Linked DNA regions of Homo sapiens: all the other regions are linked to region 1. Evidence: promoter capture Hi-C in 16 types of primary human blood cells and fetal thymus (Javierre and others, 2016). All regions are on one chromosome and are shown on one strand. The core of a region is centred on a gene start or on the middle of the fragment in contact, and the rest is flanking DNA. Distances in the headings are between cores, read along the strand shown. Region 1 holds the start of IL20RB-AS1 (IL20RB antisense RNA 1). Region 2 has its middle 33 kb from the start of STAG1-DT. Region 3 overlaps STAG1 (STAG1 cohesin complex component).

Region 1 (4,368 bases), core at 977-3,476:
GCTCCTTCCTACCTCCATGCAATCCTCCACTCCAGCAGCCAGATGGTCATCCTTTCCACTCCATGAAGTTACTTTCTCAAGGGCCCATCCAGGGGCTTCCTCCAGCCTCTCAGGAGCTGTTCTATTCTCCTTTCCATTATCCTCTACCCTGGTGCCCTTCCCTCCATCCACATTTTAAAGTCTGAGGTTTTCCAGGACCTTGTCCTCTCTTTATCTTCAGCGTCTTGTCCCTAAACAGTCTCGTCTACTTCCAAGCCTTTAGCTGTTAACTTTGTGATGGCCCTGTGCGATGGCTCATTCCTATAATCCCAGCACTTCGTGAGGCTGAGGCAAGAGGATCACTTAAGCTCAGGAGTCCGAGACCAGCCTGGGCAACATGGTGAAACCCCATCTCTACCAAAAATACAAAAAAATTAGTCAGGCATGGTGGCATGTGCCTGTATTCCCAGCTTCTTGGGGGCCTGAGGCAGGAGGATCGCTTGAGCCCAGGAGGGCAAGGCTGCAGTGAGCTGTGTTGGCACCACTGCACTCCAGCCTGGGCAAAAGAGCAAGACTCCACCTCAAAAACAAAACAAACAAACAAACAAAACCACTTTGTGTTATGTATCTGCCTTTGAGCTTTCTAAGCCTCAGGGACTGATTTCCAGCTGCCAGTCAGACATCCACAAGATGACATCTTGTAGAAATCTCAGTCTCAAAGCCGGGGGTGTCTCCTATTCTTCAAGACCAGTTGTTTCCCCCTGGGTTATTTGCCTTAGCTGGTGTTCTCACCAATTCCATTTGACAGCTGAATACTATCATTATCTCTCCCTTTTCTGTCCCCACAAACTTGATTCCTAAGCTCTGTCCTTTCTAAATCAGCCATGTTTCTTGGATTCATCATCTCCTTCCCATCCCCTTCCAAACTCTTGGGATCAGTAGGAGTATTACAACCCCCTCCTCACTCTTCCCCTGTCCTGCAGGCTTGCCCTACTCTGGTTCACTTTCCACACAGCAGCCAGAGTGTTGCTTTGTAAGATAGACCTGGTCGGCCGGGCGCCATGGCTCATGCCTGTAATCCCAGCACTTTGGGAGGCCGAAGTGGGCAGATGACTTGAGGTCAGGAGTTCCAGACCAGCCTGGAAAACATAGTGAAACCCTGTCTCTACTAAAAATACAAAAATTAGCCAGGCATGGTGGTGCACGCCTGTAGTCCCAGCTACTCAGGAGGCTGAGGCAGGAGAATCACTTGAACCCAGGAGACAGAGGTTGCAGTGAGCTGAGATCACGCCACTGCACACCAACCTGGGTGACAGAGTGAGACTCCGTATCAAAAAAAAAAAGAGATAGACCTGGTCTAGATCCTCTCCTCTTTCATTGGCTACCCTCTACTGACTTGGTCAAGCTTCGTGTCAAAGCCCTTCACCACATGATCAACTGCTTCCCTACCCCCTGCCCATCAGCCCTTGCCTCTCCTGTTCCGCAAACACACATGTCCTTTTATACAATGACCAGTGCTTGTACTCAGCCACATTTGGCCACCTATCTGGATTCCTCTATTACTTCTTTCTCAATCCTTTTCCAGGTACTACTCCAAAAGAAAAGTTATTTATTTCCCACAGAAGTCATTACAGAAGGGCAATTTTCTGGTGGCTCTGTTAAGTGTATAAATCCTCTTGCACAACAAAGCTGCTTACGTGGGCAGTAAATATGCAGTTAATGAGGCCTCAAGTGGGAGGCACAATTTATGGAGGCACAATCAGAGTAGGGAGCAGCAGTCCTGGTGCCACCTCTTCACTTCCAGAGCAGCTTTCCTTCCAGGTTCCCAATGTCAGCATCCCCAACACCTGCACACCCTGACACAGACAGTCAGGAATGACTTGAGTAGTCAAAGGGCATGACAGAGAGCAGCATGTAGAAAGCAGTTGGCAATTTTTCAAATATACCAGTAAGGGTTGTTTGTGTTCACAATACTCTGGCTTTGCAGGACTATTCTGATGCTAAAAAGAGTCTAGAAAGTTTAGGTGAACATGGTTCCTAAAGGAGGGGCTGGTTGGGGTGGGAGTGTAAGGAGAGAAGTGCCTTACTTGAGTTTCTATTAAAGGGATGCTTCAGGATGCTCCAGGCTGAGGTCTGTGAGCCCAATGTGGCCCTGACACGAAGGTTGTATGGCACAGTGGCCGTGATGTCATCAGTGACATCACACTCAGGACCTTCAGTGAGTGAGCACCAGCTGCTGGGGATCCAGATGTGGCTCGTGTACAGGCTCTCGTACTCCCTGTCAAAGAGAGGAGGGCACAGAGTTACACCAGCCCCTCTGACACAGGCTCAGTTATGGTTGCAAGTAACTGACTTCGTTCACCTACTTTGTACAGGTAAGTAAAATAAGTACTTTCTCATTATCCTAGCTCCTCCACTCTCCTCCCTACCAACCATCCATCGTCCCTTACTCCTTTTATTGCCAGATAGGGAAAGCTAGGCATAAACATCAATGTGTCTGGATCTCTTTTATCTCTTCATCTCCAGGGTCATCACCCTAATCTCAGCCACTGTCATTCCTTGCCTTGCTGTGATCTCCCAGCTTGGACACCTGCCATTCTCAAAACCATTCACCACTCAGCAGATTGTGACGTTTCTCTCCTTAATGGCTTCCTACAGGACTTAGAATGGGATCCAAACTCTTGCCAGTGGTCTTACAAGATGCTTTGGCCTTCTCTCTCACTCTGCTCCGAAGCGTGATATTCTTGCCACATTGGTCATTTCTCCAAAATGCTGAGCACTTTTTGCCTTAGGACCTTTGACTAACTGTTCACTCCATCTCAAACGCTCTGCCCCTGCTGTTCGCATGGCTGGCTCCTCTTGTCCTTCAGATATGGCATAAATATCACCTCCTCAGAGAGGCCATCCCAGGCCATCTAATATAAAGGAGCCTCAGTGTCAACTCTCTATGGCATCAGCCTTTTAGCTTCCTCCTAGCACTGATTACTATCCAAAATTCCCTAGAGCAGTGCTTTCCAAAAATAAACTTTCTGTGATGATGCAAATATTCTAAATCGATGTTGTTCAATATGGTAACCACTGGCCACATGTGGCTATTGAACACCTAAAATGTGACTAGTGTGGCAGGAAACAGACATTTTAATTTAATTTAATTTAATTTAATTTAATTTAAATTTAAATAGCCAGCTGTGGCTGGTGGCTACCATACTAGAGAATGCTGGCCTAGTATATTTATCATCTGTATCCTCCTCTAGATGTAAGCTCTCAAAATCCAGAAACCTTGTCAACTGTATCCCTGAGCCTAGAAGAATGTCTACACATGTAGGTGTTCAGTCTGTATTCATTGTTAATGAAATATATGGAGCAATTTCTGTGTCCTTATCACTATTCAATAGCTGCAAGCACCTGAACACCTGGAGAAGACTAGAGCCTGCTCAGCCCCAGGGCCAGCTGACCTTTAGGATTATAGTTCGTTTTGGCTCTAGGTATAAGCTTATAGTCAGGAAAAGTGAGGACTCCTCCACCCTTAAAGGATCTGAGTCTCCAGTGATTTATCCATCTCAAGTCAGAGTCAAACCCATTGGACAGTTGATTCACTTTTTAAAATAACTCCACCAAAATGTGTTATGCACATTCATCTTCCCAGAGAGTTCACTGTCAAATCCACAGAACAATTTCCCTTGCTTCTTCAACTCTTTCAATGCCTATGCAGACAGAGGGGGTAGATCTTTGGGGATAATCTATCCCTGGACTCAAAAAGCCACCTTGGGCTCAGGAGGAAGGGCTATGCCTTCAGGAACCAACTTCTGCTTAAGGGAGAAGAACTATTAAAAGAAAAAACTCACCCCTGGTATTCGACAGAATAGTACACTGTTTCTCCAGGCGCGATCACTGGGCTCCACATCAAGAGATGCTTCATGTTGGTTGAGAGTACAGAGAGGTTCTGAGGGGCAGGCAGAATGGCCACTTCATCTAGGATCAAGGCAGATAGCCTGGCTGACAGGTGGGCTCATAGTGGGGGAATGCCATAGCTTCAAATTAGTGTCTAATGAAGGGCCTCACTGGCGGAGGTTGCAGTAAGCTGAGATTGCACCACTGCACTCCAGCCTAGACAACAGAATGAGACTCTGTCTCAAAAAAAAAAAAGCCTCACATGTTTATAAACCAGAAACAACTCTAATTTTATCATGCTTATGTTAACACTAAATTTTGGGTACCACCATTATAATTCTGACTTTGTTGATAAATGACATATCAATATTAATAATAATAATGACTAATATTTATCTAATACTTACCATGTTCTATCTAGACCATGTGCTGGATTGTTACATGACTGTCTTATTGAATTCTCATGACCATACTGGGAGGTAAAGACCATTAGTTTTT
Region 2 (3,898 bases), core at 211-2,710, 200 kb after region 1:
TGCAAACATATATCTCCCTGGAATAAAGTTATTTAATGACTTCCAACATTTTCATTATTTCAGAAAGCTTGATAGAAATCCCGCTTTAACTCATGAGAGTGCTTTTAAAAGTAACTAAAAAACTGCTTTAGTTTGTGCTAGAATTATACCAGCATGGTTACTACAATTAATAAATTTTGAGGACACAAATTAATTATTTTCCAGACGCATAGTTTGTGTTGCAATGAGGTCTTACACCCATGGATCCTTGGGAGAAAGATCATGAATGGATCCTTGGAAGTGAAAAAGTATGGAGATCCCTAGAAATGTCTCAGCTGTCTGCCTGACCATTCTGGGAGGACAGTATCACTCTGGTCAAAGAGAAATTACTGACTAGCTGACTATGGTACAGAAGGTGGGGGAAGATGAAGAAACATCACATTAAAATTCAGTGCAAAGTGAAAGCTTGTCTTGAGCAAGGGTGAATGACTCAGCAAGAAATTGTTTACAGGATTTTAGTTTCTGCTCTCTGCAATTCTTATATTAAATAAAAAGCGGATTTTCATTATCTACTTGAAGTAATTCCATTACTCACCAGATAACAAATAAGCAACAAACACACTTCCTAGGATATTTTTTTAATCCTAAAGTGAAAGCAGTGCTTAGAATCACAAATGCTTGGCATGTATGGTCATTAACAAAAATTTGGTCTTTGGCAGAGTGAAAGCTTTGGTTTTTAAGTTCAGTTCCGCTTGTTTATCGTTGTAGTGCATAGTTATCATTCCACATTCCTACATTCAATCCCCTTTCTTCTGGTAACAGTCATACACACACACACACACACACACACACACACACACACACTCTTTCACACGCACAAATTTTCTTGGGAAAAAAATATTTTTTTTCCACATTTGGAATATCCTTCAAGACTCCCATAGGCTTTGGAGGGCACCAAGTCCTGTGCTCTCTGCTACTACTCCTTTGAATATCAGAGTGATCACATGTTCCATTCAAAACAAAATCGGGCAGGGCGCAGTGGCTCACTCCTGTAATTCCCAGCACTTCGGGAGGCTGAGGCAGGCAGATCACTTGAGGTCAGGCATTCGAGACCAGTCTGGCCAACACAGTGAAATCCCATCTCTTTTTTTGTATCTAAAAAACTACAAAAATTAGCCAGGTGTGGTGGCATGCGTCTGTAGTCCCAGTTATTCAGGAGGCTGAGACAAGAGAATTGCTTGAACCTGGGAGGCAGAGGTTGCAGTGAGCCAAGATCGTGCCACTGCTCTCCAGCCTGGGCAACAGAGTAAAACTCTGTCACACACACACACAAAAATAAATAAATAAAATAAAATAAGTTTATCATGACTGTAATCCCAGCACATTGGGAAGCACAGGCAGGCAGATCACTTGAGGTCAGAAGTTTGAGACCAACCTGGCCAACATGGTGAAACCCCATCTCCACTAAAAATACAAAAATTTGCTTGGCATGGTGGCGGGCACCTGTAATCCCAGCTACTAACTAGGGAGGCTAAGGCAGGAGAATCACTGCCTTAGATGGAGGTTGAGGTTGCAGTGAGCCAAGATCATGCCACTACACTTCAGCCTGGGTAACAGAATGAGACTCCATCTCAAAAAAGAAAAAGAAAAAAAGAAAAAAGAAATTGAGACAGGATGACAGGATGAGGGCCAGCTTCTGTGCTGACCTATCAGCTCTGCCTCTTGGCCACATACATGCAAGCTGAGAGCAGCCGTTTTGGCTGCACGTCGTAAATTCAGGCTGGGCTGCACTCACTCAGGTCCCTTGTTGGCACTATATTTCTTCCATTTCAAGGATTCAAACACACACACACTCAGTCCATTCTTTCCTTGATTTATTTTCGTAATACAAGTAAATGAATTATTTTGAATATTGGGGTTATAGTACTAAACAAACCAAAGTCCTCCATGAAACATTCAGTAATTCAGGTTTATGAGGTGTAGATGGGCATATTACCTGGTTTGTCCCTAAGAAACACTTAGCCACTCCTTCAATGACTGGTTCAGAAATGTGTCTTGGATGAAGTTCCCTAGAAGCAGAGCCTGAGGCAAGGATTCAGATGTAAGAAAGGCAGGGAATGCTCTTAGAGAAACCTGTAAGGGAGCAAGATAGAGAAGGAGAAGGAGCCAAGTAACGACCTGATGTCAGGTAAAATCTAGTCTTGGTCTGGTTTTGTGTGTGGAGAGGGAAGCTTGCCTCTGGAACACAAATTACACTACAGAGTTGTTTCTGCCTTGAAGCAAGGAGGTTAGCCTGTTAAGAAACTCCATATCTATTAGTTATTAGTCTATATATTGAGACAGTGTAACTTCCCCGGCATCCCTAGGCTAGGAGGCTTTTGACAACCTAAAACACCTCTCATAAACCAAGGTCACAGGTTTAAACTGCTGGCCACAGCCTCAAAATAGCTGCAGGGAGTGGGGGAAAGGGTAAAGAATGGAAGGGGTGCACCAGCTGATAAAAGGGATCTGAGTGGAGTGCCAAAACATCCACTACTGCATGTGTCCCAACCAAGTTAATCTTAGACAATGAGATTTAATTCTGCAACTTCTTCTGGAACCATGAGGGAAAATAATCTTTCCTTTTGCTCACCGTGAAATTAGTACAATGCCTGCCTGCAGCTGCTTGAGCCCGTTTTGGGAACAGCCAACTGAGAAGAAAAGAAGAGTAATATAGAGAGGCAGAGTCCCGGTGACGGTGACTCTAATTAGTGTTCTTTTCTCTGCATACCAGTTTGTTCTGCACCTCAATATGTCCAATTCCCTTTAGAATCCATCAGTTTGGCCGGGCGCGGCGGCTCACGCCTGTAATCCCAGCACTTTGGGAGGCCGAGGTGGGTGGATCACGAGGTCAGGAGATCGAGACCATCCTGGCTAACACGGTGAAACCCCGTCTCTACTAAAAATACAAAAAATTAGCCGGGCGAGGTGGCGGGCGCCTGTAGTCCCAGCTACTCAGCAGGCTGAGGCAGGAGAATGGCGTGAACCCAGGAGGTGAAGCTTGCAGTGAGCCGAGATCGCACCACTGCACTCCAGCCTGGGCAACAGAGCGAGACTCCGTCTCAAAAAAAAAAAAAAAGAACCCATCAGTTTAACCCAGCTGGGCCTGAACTCAGTAGTCATGGAGTCCAATTCTCTTGCTTTGGAGGAGAGATTGAGATTAAGGTAACAGAAGATCCGGGATTAGAATCCAAACCTCGTGTTGACTTGTGAGTCAAGCCGAAGGCATGTTCCAGGGCATCAGGGTGCCCTAGCTCTTGGAGGGAACTTAAATTCTTTTGCCAAGGAAGCAGTATTTATTTTATAAGGTCAGCCACACTATAAAAGAAACACAAACAGAAATCTCGCCTGGTGATTGTCCAATGCATCGCAGTTAATGGAGCATTTTCACATCTGGGATGTCCTTCAAGACTCCTATCAACTTTGGAAGCACTAAGTCCTGTGCCCTCTGCTACTTCTCCTTGGGATGCCAGAGTGATCACATGTTCCATTCAAAACAGAATTAGGACAGGATGAGGGCCAGCTTCTGTGCTGACCTCCCAGCTCTGCCTCCTGGCCACATGCAACTTGAGATCAGCCCTTTTCAGAGGCTGCAGCTGCTGCTGCACGTGATGAGTGCAGGTTAGGCTGCATTCACTCAGGGCCCTTGTTGGCACTTGTATTTCTTTCATTTCAAAAAGCCAGCAGGCTAGGGGCCAGAGAAGATCCCATCAAGAAATGTGAAACATATGCCTCACTGCTCCTTTGCTGCCATCAAGACCAAATAATTAACCATCAGTGAATTTCTTTTTCTTTCCTTTTTTTTTTTGAAACAGAGTCGTCTTGCTCTGTTACCCAGGCTGGAGTGCAGTGGTGCGATCTCGGCTCACTGCAACCTCTG
Region 3 (4,206 bases), core at 191-2,690, 240 kb after region 1:
TAATCTATGTATTTGTTGTTGTTTTTTGTTGTTGTTGTTTTGTCTCATTCTATCAGCTGCCAAGAAGAAAGTTAAAATATCCAACTATGACTGTGGAATTATCTGTTTTTCCCTTAATTCTGTCAAGTTTTTCTCACTCATTTTGAAGCTCTGTTGTAAGACATGTACAACTTATGATTATTATGTTGTTTTGACAAATTGACCTTTTTATTGTGATGAAATGTCTCTCTGTTTCTGGTAATAATCTTTTCCTTGAAGTCTGCTTTATTTGATGTTAATATAGCCACTCCAGCGATCTTGAGCTTACTGTTTCCATAATATATCTTTTTCTACCTATTTACCCAAAACTCTTCATTATATTTAAATTGCTTTTGATGGTAGTATATAGTCGAGTATTGCTTTTTAAAAAATTCCTGGCCAGGCACAGTGACTCATGCCTGTAATCCCAGCACTTTGGGAGGCCGAGGCAGGCGGATCATCTGAGGTCAAGAGTTCAAGACCAGCGTGACCAACGTGGAGAAACCCCATCTCTACTAAAAATACAAAATTAGCCGGGCATTGTGGTGGGCGCCTGTAATCCCAGCTACTTAAAAGGCTGAGGCAGGAGAATCGCTTGAACCCGGGAGGTGGAGGTTGTGGTGAGCTGAGATCGCGACATCGCACTCCAGCCTGGGCAACAAGAGCAAAACTCCATCTCCAAAAAAAAAAATTCCTTCCAACAACATGGAAGTGGAATCTTTCAGTTATAATAATCATTGATCATATGCTAATGTCTGTCAAGAACTATGAAGAGTTTGAAGTTTTACCCTATTTATAGGCTGACAAGTTAACTTGGCATAGTTTAATGGCTTATGGTAGAAGTCATTGAAATGACTTGGTCATAGATGAAGAACGATGCACTGTGTCAGTAGCCAGACAGTCAGCATTTGCATCAGATTTCTGAGCTCCAGTTTGCATAGGTCATTGGGAAGAGGTCCAGGTGAAACCTGCACAAGTAGTGAAATCCCAAGCTTAGAGAAACTCAGATCTTTTATAATGGGTCATAAATACGCTTTTTGCTCTGGGACATGTCTTTCTTCCAGGACCCTTCACTATATAACTATCCTGAAAAGATTGGAACAAAGGCTTCCAGTGCTTCTCTTCTCAAGACAGGCAGAAAATCAAGAGACTCCATGGAGAGTTGTCTTCCAAAACTGTCTAGTGAATTTTCTCAGTTTCCCTTTTGTTATTTGCTTAAGTTTTTCTTTTGTTTCTTACATGGCTACAACCTAGCTTTCCAGCTTTATCTCTTCATTGTACTTCTCTATGGTTATATGTTATCACCAAATTAGATTACATACTCGTATCCTGTCTTTCCCCACGTCTTTGTTCTGGTGAATATGTGTGTGTGTAAGAAAACGCTTGGCTAGGCATAGTGGCTTCCACCTGTAATCCTAGCCCTTTTGGAGGCTGGGGCGGGCGATCACTTGAGTTCAGGAGTTTCAGACAAGCCTGGGCAACATAGTGAAACCCTGTGTCTACAAAAAATACAAAAAATTAGTTAGGTGTGGTAGTGCGCACCTGTAGTCCCAGCTACTTGGGGGGCTGAGGCAGAGGATAGTTTGAGCCCAGGAGGTCAAGGTTGTAGTGAGCTGAGATTGCGCCACTACACTCCAGCCTGGGTGACAAAGTGAGACTCTGTCTCAAAAAAAGAACAAAAGCAAAAAAGAACATTGAGCATTTACTATATGCCAATAAACATTTTACAATAACCCTGTGGGGTAGTTATTGTTATGTTGGTGTTATCCCCCTTTTACTGGTGAGGAACTGAGGCTTGGATTAAATTTCCCAAGTTTGTAATTAGGGAGGGACATATTATGGAGAAGCTTTTGTAGTAGTCTATTTCTTGACCTTAGTAATAATTACATGGAGTGTTTGCGTTAAAATTCTCTCTTTTTTTTGAGATGGAATCTCGCTTTGTTGCCCGGGCTGGAGTGCAGTGGTGTGATCTTGGCTCACTGAAACCTCCGCCTCAAGCGATTCTTGTGCCTCAGCCTCCCGAGTAGCTGAGATTACAGGTGCCTGCCACCGTGCTTTAAAATTCTTTAAACTGTTATTTAGAATTTTACATAATGTACTGTATAATTGATATAGTTCACAAAGAAAAGAAAAAGCAAACGCAGAGTAAGATGTGGAATCTGTGTGAAATCTTTACAGATAACTTCAGCCAATCTTTATCCTCTGTATCTATCCCGTTGCATTTATTGTTGGCGTCATAAGGTTTAGTAAGTGGCAGTGTTTATAAGGCACAGTATCCTGTGTAATATATATGTGTGTATGTGTGTGTGTGTATATATGTATATAATTATTATTTTTTTTGAGATGAAGTCTTGCTCTTGTTGCCCAGGATGGAGTGCAGTGGCGCGATCTCGGCTCACTGCAACCTCTGCCTCCTAGGTTCAAGTGATTCTCCTGCCTCAGCCTCTCGAGTAGCTGGGACTACAGGTGCCTGCCACCACATCTGGCTAATTTTTTTTTGTATTTTTAGTAGAGATGGGGTTTCACTATGTTGGCCAGGCTGGTCTCGAACTCCTGACCTCAGGCAATCCTCTGCCTTGACCTCCCAAAAGTGCTGGGATTACAGGTGTCAGCCACCACACCTAGCCTTTCTTTTTTTTTTTTTCTTTTTTTTTTTTTTTTGACGGAGTCTGTTGCCCCATGCTGGAGTGCTGTGACGTGATCACGGCTCACTGCAGCCTCAACCTCTCACCTCATCCTCCCAACTAGCTGGGAGTACCTGGGACCACAGGTGTGTGCCACCAGGCCCAGCTAATTAAAATACGTTTTTTCGTAGAGACAGGGTCTCACCATGTTGCCAAGGTTGGTCTTGAACTCCTGGGCTCAACAGTCCCCCAGCCTTGGCTTCCCAAAATGCTGGGATTATAGTTGTGAGCCACCGAGCCTCACCCAGTGTGTAGTGTTTGAAATTAATTGTCCCAAGGCCAAACAGCTAGTAAATGATAGAGCCAGAATTTGAACTTAGGCTGTTTCAGAACCCAGTCTCTAAATTTCTTAAAAGGCCATTTTTCTCTCAGCCTCATTTCTGCATGTTGAAATACTTTGCATTTTGAAGTTTATTTTAGGGAGATTTGATTTTCTTCCCTATTCCATTATGTAATAATTATCTTGGGTAGGACATTACTTTCTGGAGTCCTCGATTTTCTCATTTTTAAGATGGGAATACAGTTTAGAGTCTTTTTTTTATTTTTAGAAAAATTGACTTATTTTTAAATGGACAAATTATGTTTATGGTGAATAACTTTGGTATATGTGTACATTATGGAATGGCTAAATCATGCTAATTAATTAATATATACTTTTCTTCACATATTTATTTGGTGTGGTGAAAACACTTAAAATCTGTTCTCAGCATTTTCAAGTATCCAATATACATTGCTATTAACTATAGCTATCATGTGGTGCAATAGATCTCTTGAACTTATTCCTCCTGTCTAATGAAAATTTGTATACTTTTTTTGGGGGAGAGGAGGAAAGCAGTCTTGTTCTGTTGCCTAGGCTGGATGGCAGTGGTACGATCGATCTCGGCTCACTGCAACTTCTGCCTCCTGGGTTCAAGTGATTCTCATGCCTCAGCCTCCTAAGTAGCTGGGACCTCAGGCGCGTGCCACCGTGTCCAGCTAGTTATTATTTTTGATATGGAGTCTTGCTCTGTCGCCCAGGCTGGAAGGCAGTGGTGCGATTTTGGCTCACTGTAGCCTGTGCCTCCGGGGTTCAAGCGTTTCTACTTCGTCAGCCTCCTAAGTAGCTGGGATTACAGATGAGTGCCACCATGCCCTGCTAATTTTTGTATTTTTAGTAGAGATGGGGTTTCACCATGTTGGCCAGGCTGGTCTCGAACTCCCGACCTCAGGTGATCTGCCCGCCTTGGCCTCCCAGAGTGCTAGGATTACAGGACTGATCCACTGGGCCTGGTGAAAATTTGTATCTGTTTGATCAGTGTCTTCTTAATCCCCATCCCTGCTCCCATCCCTGGTAACCACCATTCATTATTCTCTGTGCTTCTATGAATTGAGCATTTTTTAGTATTTTATATTTTATTAATTAATTTATTTTTTGAGACAGAGTCTCACTGTGTCGCCTAGGCTGGACTGCAATGGCACAATCTCGGCTCACTGCAACCTCCACCTCCTAGGTTCCAGCGATTCT

Evidence for each region. Contacts are between HindIII fragments. The CHiCAGO score rates a contact against its expected background, and 5 or more counts as called.
Region 2: a contact is called between a fragment that was not itself captured here and the fragment with the promoter of IL20RB-AS1 in region 1, in 6 of 17 cell types (non-activated CD4 T cells, naive CD8 T cells, endothelial precursors and 3 more). The highest score is 6.2, in non-activated CD4 T cells.
Region 3: a contact is called between a fragment that was not itself captured here and the fragment with the promoter of IL20RB-AS1 in region 1, in 1 of 17 cell types (fetal thymus). The highest score is 5.2, in fetal thymus.

Annotation. Positions count from the first base shown.
Region 1 is chr3:136,980,049-136,984,416 of GRCh38, reverse strand. IL20RB-AS1 (IL20RB antisense RNA 1) reads left to right here and starts at 2,226. Exons shown (of 4, transcript NR_183729.1): 1 at 2,226-2,354. It overlaps IL20RB (interleukin 20 receptor subunit beta), which reads right to left. Exons shown (of 7, transcript NM_144717.4): 2 at 3,825-3,951; 3 at 2,067-2,257. The HindIII fragment of the contact is 2,087 bases long and covers 1,387-3,473 here.
Region 2 is chr3:136,783,491-136,787,388 of GRCh38, reverse strand. No RefSeq gene overlaps it. Among named protein-coding and RNA genes, the nearest start is that of STAG1-DT, 33 kb to the right of the region's middle. The HindIII fragment of the contact is 1,504 bases long and covers 709-2,212 here.
Region 3 is chr3:136,737,977-136,742,182 of GRCh38, reverse strand. All of the region lies in intron 1 of STAG1 (STAG1 cohesin complex component), which reads left to right. Among named protein-coding and RNA genes, the nearest start is that of STAG1, 12 kb to the left of the region's middle. The HindIII fragment of the contact is 855 bases long and covers 1,013-1,867 here.